Regions from separate parts of the Homo sapiens genome. Here region 1 is linked to region 2. The links are contacts of gene promoters, found by promoter capture Hi-C in blood cells and fetal thymus (Javierre and others, 2016). All regions are on one chromosome and are shown on one strand. Each heading gives the region's core, a stretch centred on a gene start or on the middle of the fragment in contact. The rest is flanking DNA. Distances are from core to core; before and after follow the strand shown. Region 1 overlaps KMT2D (lysine methyltransferase 2D). Region 2 holds the start of KMT2D (lysine methyltransferase 2D).

The links. The method cuts DNA at HindIII sites, captures the fragments that hold promoters and counts their contacts. A CHiCAGO score of 5 or more calls a contact.
Region 1: a fragment that was not itself captured here is called in contact with the fragment with the promoter of KMT2D in region 2 in 3 of 17 cell types (endothelial precursors, M1 macrophages and M0 macrophages); the score reaches 6.1 in endothelial precursors.

Annotation. Positions count from the first base shown.
Region 1 is chr12:49,023,677-49,027,199 of GRCh38, reverse strand. It overlaps KMT2D (lysine methyltransferase 2D), which reads left to right. Exons shown (of 55, transcript NM_003482.4): 49 at 1-1,018; 50 at 2,254-2,390; 51 at 2,492-2,622. Among named protein-coding and RNA genes, the nearest start is that of PRKAG1, 6.7 kb to the right of the region's middle. The HindIII fragment of the contact is 8,267 bases long and covers 1-3,523 here.
Region 2 is chr12:49,058,299-49,062,084 of GRCh38, reverse strand. KMT2D (lysine methyltransferase 2D) reads left to right here and starts at 1,291. Exons shown (of 55, transcript NM_003482.4): 1 at 1,291-2,472. RefSeq lists an enhancer at 1,224-1,473 and silencers at 1,524-2,143, 2,305-2,599. The HindIII fragment of the contact is 17,382 bases long and covers 1-3,786 here.

The sequences.
Region 1 (3,523 bases), core at 44-2,543, 35 kb after region 2:
CCTTCTCCTGCCAGTCCCCCTACTGAGCCCTTGGTTGAACTTCCCACCGAACCCTTGGCTGAGCCACCCGTCCCCTCACCTCTGCCACTGGCCTCATCCCCTGAATCAGCCCGACCCAAGCCCCGTGCCCGGCCCCCTGAAGAAGGTGAAGATTCCCGTCCTCCTCGCCTCAAGAAATGGAAAGGAGTGCGCTGGAAGCGGCTTCGGCTGCTGCTGACCATCCAGAAGGGCAGTGGGCGGCAGGAGGATGAGCGGGAAGTGGCAGAGTTTATGGAGCAGCTTGGCACAGCCTTGCGACCTGACAAGGTACCGCGAGACATGCGTCGCTGCTGTTTCTGTCATGAGGAGGGTGACGGGGCCACTGATGGGCCTGCCCGTCTGCTGAACCTGGACCTGGACCTGTGGGTGCACCTCAACTGTGCCCTTTGGTCCACGGAGGTGTATGAGACCCAGGGCGGGGCACTGATGAATGTGGAGGTTGCCCTGCACCGAGGACTGCTAACCAAGTGCTCCCTGTGCCAGCGAACTGGTGCCACCAGCAGCTGCAATCGCATGCGTTGCCCCAATGTCTACCATTTTGCTTGTGCCATCCGTGCCAAGTGCATGTTCTTCAAGGACAAGACCATGCTGTGTCCAATGCATAAGATCAAGGGGCCCTGTGAGCAAGAGCTGAGCTCTTTTGCTGTCTTCCGGCGGGTCTACATTGAGCGGGACGAGGTGAAGCAAATCGCTAGCATCATTCAGCGGGGAGAACGGCTGCACATGTTCCGTGTGGGGGGCCTTGTGTTCCACGCCATCGGACAGCTGCTGCCTCACCAGATGGCTGACTTTCATAGTGCCACTGCCCTCTATCCCGTGGGCTACGAGGCCACGCGCATCTATTGGAGCCTCCGCACCAACAATCGTCGCTGCTGCTATCGCTGTTCTATTGGTGAGAACAACGGGCGGCCGGAGTTTGTAATCAAAGTCATCGAGCAGGGCCTGGAGGACCTGGTCTTCACTGACGCCTCTCCCCAGGGTGAGCAGTGGGCCCTTGAAATGGATAATATGGAATGGGAAAAGTTTCTCCCAGGGTCACTGTTACAATGTCTATAAGAGGACCTGTAGCTTCTATGTGAATGATCCTCCTTCCCCCACCTCAGGCAGGCAGGGGGTCTCTTGAAAACTCCCAGTGAAAGTGTTTGAGCCTCTCTTGTCACCCTAAATTCCCTTGTAGTTGAAAATATTTTGCTGGTCTAATCTCACATATTCTAGTTCTGTTGCTATCCCCAGTGGAACAAAAGGAAACAGTTCTGAGACTATCATCTGCCTCACCCAACCTAATCCTAACCAAGTTCCTTGGGGTTGTTTTTCCCTGGACGAAATCAGAATTATTTTGATTTTAGTTTTAGTGTTAATGATAAAATAACAGTAAGAGCAGGTACCTTTTTTTGAGTGTGTACTGTGAGCCACAAACTAAGCTAAGTGATTTGTGTAGTTTATTTTGTTCATACAACCCTATGAGGTAAGTATTATACTACGATTATGCCCAGTTTGTTCATAAAGAAACTGAGTCTCAGATTTCAGTACAGTCGTGCATTGCTAAATGACAGGGATACATTCTGAGAAATGCATTGTTAGGTGATTTTGTCATTGTGTGAACTTCATAGAGTGTACTACACAAACCTAGATGGCATAGCATACTACACACCTAGGCTCTGCGGTATACCCCATTGCTCCTAGGCTACAAATCTGTACAGCATGTAACTGTACTGAATACTGTAGGCAGTTGTAACATACGGTAAGTATGTGCATCTAGACATAGAAAAGATACAGTAAAAATACAGTACAGTATTATAATCTTACCAGACCACTGTTGTATATATGATTCCTCATTGAATGAAATGTTGTTAAGCTGCACGTGACTGTATTTGGCTCAAGGTCTCATGACCAGTACTAGAACCTGAACCCAAGTCTTTCCAACTCCAAAGCATGCCTGCTCTTTCACTAGGGACCTTCCATGGCCTATGCTGGGTCTCCTGGGCCCTGGGTTTGTATCTCAAGGCTCTGTGATGACCCCTTGGGGTTGGAAACCTCCTGCTTCTTAAGAGAGAGTGAGACTAGGAGGCCAAGAGAGGATCTGGAAGACCAACACAACTTCATGATAGGGAGGCTTGAAGGCCTCAGAAAACTGCAGTTCTGGATTGGGGTTAGGGACTGGAGGTCAGTGAGCAGAAGTTGCCTCTGAGGACTGCTCTCTTCCCTGCTTCTTAGCCGTGTGGAATCGCATCATTGAGCCTGTGGCTGCCATGAGAAAAGAGGCTGACATGCTGCGACTCTTCCCTGAGTATCTGAAGGGCGAGGAGCTCTTTGGGCTGACGGTGCATGCCGTGCTTCGCATAGCTGAATCAGTAAGGAAGGGGCTGGGAGCTGGGGGGCTTGGCGGGCACTGAGAACTTTGGCCTAACCCCAAAAAAACTCAGGCTAAGGTGAGTATGAACTGTGCCCACAGCTGCCCGGGGTGGAGAGCTGTCAAAACTATTTATTCCGCTATGGGCGCCACCCCCTTATGGAGCTGCCACTCATGATCAACCCCACTGGCTGTGCCCGATCAGAGCCTAAAATCCTCACACACTACAAACGGTGAGCTTGTGATGCTGGAGCCAAGGGATGTGGGTGTGGGTGTTGACAGGGATCCTCTGGTCCCATTATGAGGATTTAGGATACAGATCAGAGTTCCCGTGGAGAAAATGGGGAATCACTCTTAGACTTCCTAATTAGAGGGCATGCAGGTATTAGTAGGGTATCCTTTTCCTCCTCTCCCAACCTGCTCAGATGCACTTGGGATATAGGACAGAATTATCTTGGGCACCCTGGGGAGGTAATGGGTAAACTGGTGAAATTTTATGAAATATATAAGGGACTTGGTCACCTCTTTCTTCTCCTGTTTTACTTCTGGGGGAGGGCCTGTGATTCTCCCAAACCTCAGATACCCCATGGGTGCTAGGGTCACCTTCCCTTCCCCATGAGTGTTGGTGTCAAAAATAAATAGTTAGAGATATAATAGAAAAATAATAAAACCTTACATTTGTATAGCACTTTATACTTTTTTTTTCAAAGCGTTTTCACATCCATTATCTCATTTGATCCTCACAACAACCTTATGAGGTAGGTAGGGCAGGTGGTATGACCCCCATTTTACAGCTGAGAAAACTGAGACCCAGAAAGATTAAATGACTAGGCAAAGGTCACACAGCTGGGACCAGACCCTTACTTCTTCACTGCAGGTCCTTGTTCTTTCTGTGTACCAGGGACCTTAGTCCCTGGGTAGAGGGAGGCAGAATCTGTGGTAGCAGGGCTTTCTCGAAGGTCTTTGGTGGCTCCTAGGCTGTTGTAGAATGTCAGAGACTCTCCATCCCTAGCCAGCCTTGTCCTTGATGCCCTGCAATGGTGGTTTTCAAACTGTGAGTGCCTGTGTTCCAAAAAGTCCTGGATCACTTAAACTGATGGGTTGAACTTTTCCTTCCCATGCATATCTCTTCCT
Region 2 (3,786 bases), core at 42-2,541:
AGTTCGAGACCAGGCTGGCCAACATAGTGAAACCCTGTCTCTACTAAAAATACAAAAAAGTAGCCGGGTCTGGTGGTGTGCGCCTGTAATCCCGGCTACTAGGGAGGCTGAGGCAGGAGAATCGCGTGAACCAGGGAGGCGGAGGTTGCAGTGAGCCGAGATCGCACCACTGAACTCCAACCCGGACGACAGTGCGAGACTCTGTCTCAAAAAATAAAAAAAGTTCTCTTGGACAGCATCGTAAACCCTTTCCTCACAAAGCTGGCATTGGATCGAATCTGCCTGCCTCTTTCTCCACATCTTCTTTTAAAAAAACGTAGTATAATTATTTGTAATCCTAGGAAAAACGTGGCCTTTGGTTTGAATAATGGCTCAACTTCTCACTAGATGTAGTTCTGTGGGCAATTTTACCTATTGTAGCCTTAATCTTCATCTGTAATATGGAGATAATTCCATGTAACTCATAATGAAGGCGAGGAATAACTAAGAATATATAAAGTATCTGGACATAGTTAATTTGTCTCCTTTTGTCCACCCCATGTGTGCGTTGATGCAGAAGAGGCATTCCAATGTTTTCTCATCCAGACTTATGGTGGGGGGGTGGTGCCTGCAAAGAGTATGTTTTGCGATCTTGTCCAGGACAGTACTCCGGCCAGGTAGCAGCGAGGCTACCTCAGTTTACTAAAAAAGGGACACGGGTACTGAATATCTGGAAGGACTGGAGGTGGGAGTGGGGGCACCCTGAAAAGGGAGGCTCTACCTTTATGTTTCGATGGGGAGGTGTGTATAGTGACTGTGTGGGCACCGACAGTCCTTCCTCACACGGGGGACTGGGAGTCAGGAGGAACGACTAGGGACTCGTCCAGTTTTCTTCGGGTCCCCAAACGTGGCAAGAGTCCACCCTCTGCAGCGCCAGGCGCCGTACCTCACTTTCTCCATTTGCGGACTCCAGTTCCCAGGATGCTGAGCAGCGGCCAATCTCCTGGCTCTTCTTCCATCCCCCTCCCGGGAAAGACTGCCCCTGGCCAAAGCAAGGGGCAGTTGGAACTTCAGGGACCAACGACTGCAAGGGTATGGAATTAGACAGCGGCCAGAGTCCTAGTTTCGCGGCCTGGGCGGTAAATGAGGCGGCTCCAGGGCCGCGGCGGAGAGGAGGGGGGCTTCGTTCCCACGTGTCTGCCCTGCTGCCGGCCCGGCGCGGTCGGGGTTAACCCGGAGCGGAAGGATCCCGCAGCGTGTGCGTAGAACTGCAGAGTCACAGCCTTTCCTCCGAGAGGGCGGGATCCCTCCGCCGCTCCGCTCCAACACAAAATAGGGCCGCCTCTTCTCCTTTCTCCCCCTCTCGAGTGGGGTGCCCCGGGCAAAAGGCCCCCCCGGATCTAGCGCCGAAGGCTTCACGAATCTTCACGACCGCTGCCCAGCTCTTGGGCCAGGAAATAGCCCCTTCGCAGGAACCACCCTACCGGCCGAACAGGAGGCGGAGGGGGGGAGGCGGAGCGGCGCCGCGCTGCACTACTTTCCTCTCCGGTTGCAAATGGCTGCCTCGTTCCCCACTTTCCGCTCAGTTTCCTGACCCCCCGGTGCCGGGAGCCGGGGTTGGGCCATGCACCTCTAGGCCGCCTGCGATCACAGTCAGCCGGGGGTCGAGGGGGTGCCACCGACCAGAGCCGGCCAGGCCGGGGGCGGGGCAGCTCCCGAGGCCAGAGGGGAAGGGAGGCGAGCGCAGGGCCTGGAGCGGCCGGAGGGGAGCGGGCAGAGGGCTCGCACCGCCCGCCCCTTCCTTTTCCTCGCCTACCTAGCCTCCTCCCTTCCCCGGGGGGAGCAGAAGGTGGGGGGCTCGAAGCCGCCGAGGGTGAGCGCTCGGGGTCGAGAAGCCCGGCGCTGGGTGTGTGTCAGGTTCAGCCCCGCGGCCCCGCCGGCCCCGCGTCGCCGTAGCTCGCGCGGCCCCGGGCGCCGGCCGGGGCGGGGAGAGGGGCTCGGCGCTCCTGCGAGGGTCTCACGTTCCATCCGGGCCAGGCGCGGGGCGGCGCGGCATTCCTTCCGGGCTGCTGGGGAGGCGCCTCGACGTTCCATCTGGAGAGCCTCGACGTTCCGCCCGAGCCCGGCGCGGGCGGCCGGGGCGCTGGCCGGGCCCTAGGACTGAGAGGCCGCCCGGCGACGCGGATGCGGAGCCTGCTCGCCCAAGATCAAAGCCACCGGTGCTCTCTTTGTGTCCGCTCGGGATTCGCCGCCCTGGGGCTGTCCATGGAAACCTAAACTGCTGGAACCTGAGGCAGAGAACCCCTCTTTGGCTTCTTGCTGTTTTTTTGTGGGGGGAGGGTGGCCACTCCGACCTGGATTTACCGTTCTTGGCCCCCCTAAGCCCCCCCGTGCGGGGGGCGGCTGTGATCGCTCTGGCGGTTGGAGGTCGGGGAGCGGCCCGGGCTCTGGCCATGTTCTCGGATGAGGATTTCTGGATCGCCCTGTGAAGAGGTGAGTGAAGTCCGCCCGGCCAGGGCCCAGAAAGGGTTGGACTGGGGGCACAGCCAGATGGACTATCTTAGCCGGAGCTGGCCTTTAGGTTGGAGAAGGGGGTGCCAGAGCTGGGGAGCGTTCCTTTGGCAGGGTCTGTCAAGGGAACCTGAGCCAGTCACCAGGGCAGAACTGAGGCCTGGTGTCTTGGGGTGTGCCTCTTTAAAGACTGGGGGTTCAGGGAACCACGGGAGTTTGGGAACCTGGCCAGATAGCCTCTCTGCCTGTTTATTTTTGTGTTGGGGGAGCTCGACTAAACTAGGACCCGGGCCCTGATGCCAGCACCAATCCCAGGCTGCTGCTTCTCCCCTCAGGGTTCCTTGTGGGCCTTGGGACAGAGCAACTTGGGATGGTGGGGGAGGGTGTCACTGCCAGGTCAGACTTATGCCAGTTGGACTTTAAGGTTGTTCCTACCGAGTTGGGCACCCAAAGCAGTCCCTGGAAAACTCAAGGAACCCCAGATCCTTCACCAGGCCTTCTTTCACTGGGCAAAGGGAGAGTGTGTGGAAACTGACTAGTTGTGATGAAGGGGGTAGCTGGGGCAAGAAGGAGGCGGGGCTGGGGCAGTTCTGGCCCTGCTGTTCAACTTTAAACTGCCCCTGCCTGGCAAAGTGACCCCAGTGAGGCCGAGTGCTGTCTTAGCCTGCTTTGCCTCCCCTCCTCTTGGGATGGATCTAATCTCCAGAGGATTATAGAGGAGGCCGTTGAGATTTGCTCCCTGCGAATGTAGGCTGCAAAAAATGGCTTTTGTCTTTTGCCTTCTCCCGGCCTGGTATGGAGAGCTGGCTGCCCATGAGTCCCTGGCCAGTCCTGCAAGCCCCTCCCAGACCTCTCCAACCCTTTTTTGACCAGGGATTGTTAACTGGTTTTCTGATCCTGTACCAACTGTGCAGAATGGGGTGGCCTGTGTCTCTCTGGAGGAGAAATTGCTTGATCAGAGCTCTTTTCTCCTGGAAACCAGTGATTCCACCCCTGGCAGAAGGTATTGGGGAGAAAGGGTGTGTATGTGCCTGCAGCTTGAGCCTCAATCCTGTGGGCCTTGCTTGGGCTGGGACTGCCCCTCTCACACCTGTCATGCTACCCAGCAGGGATTTGGCTGGTGCATTTTGCTCCCTCACTCTTATCTGCTCCAACATACATATACTAGATTTCTTTGAGTCTGGTTTTGGAAAGGAGAAAATAGGGGTTTTGCCTTTTAAAGATTTCTGAAAGGTGAGAGGTGGCACAGGGGTAGTGGAGTGAGGTGAGCTGTCAATCCTGCTCTCCACTCCGGCA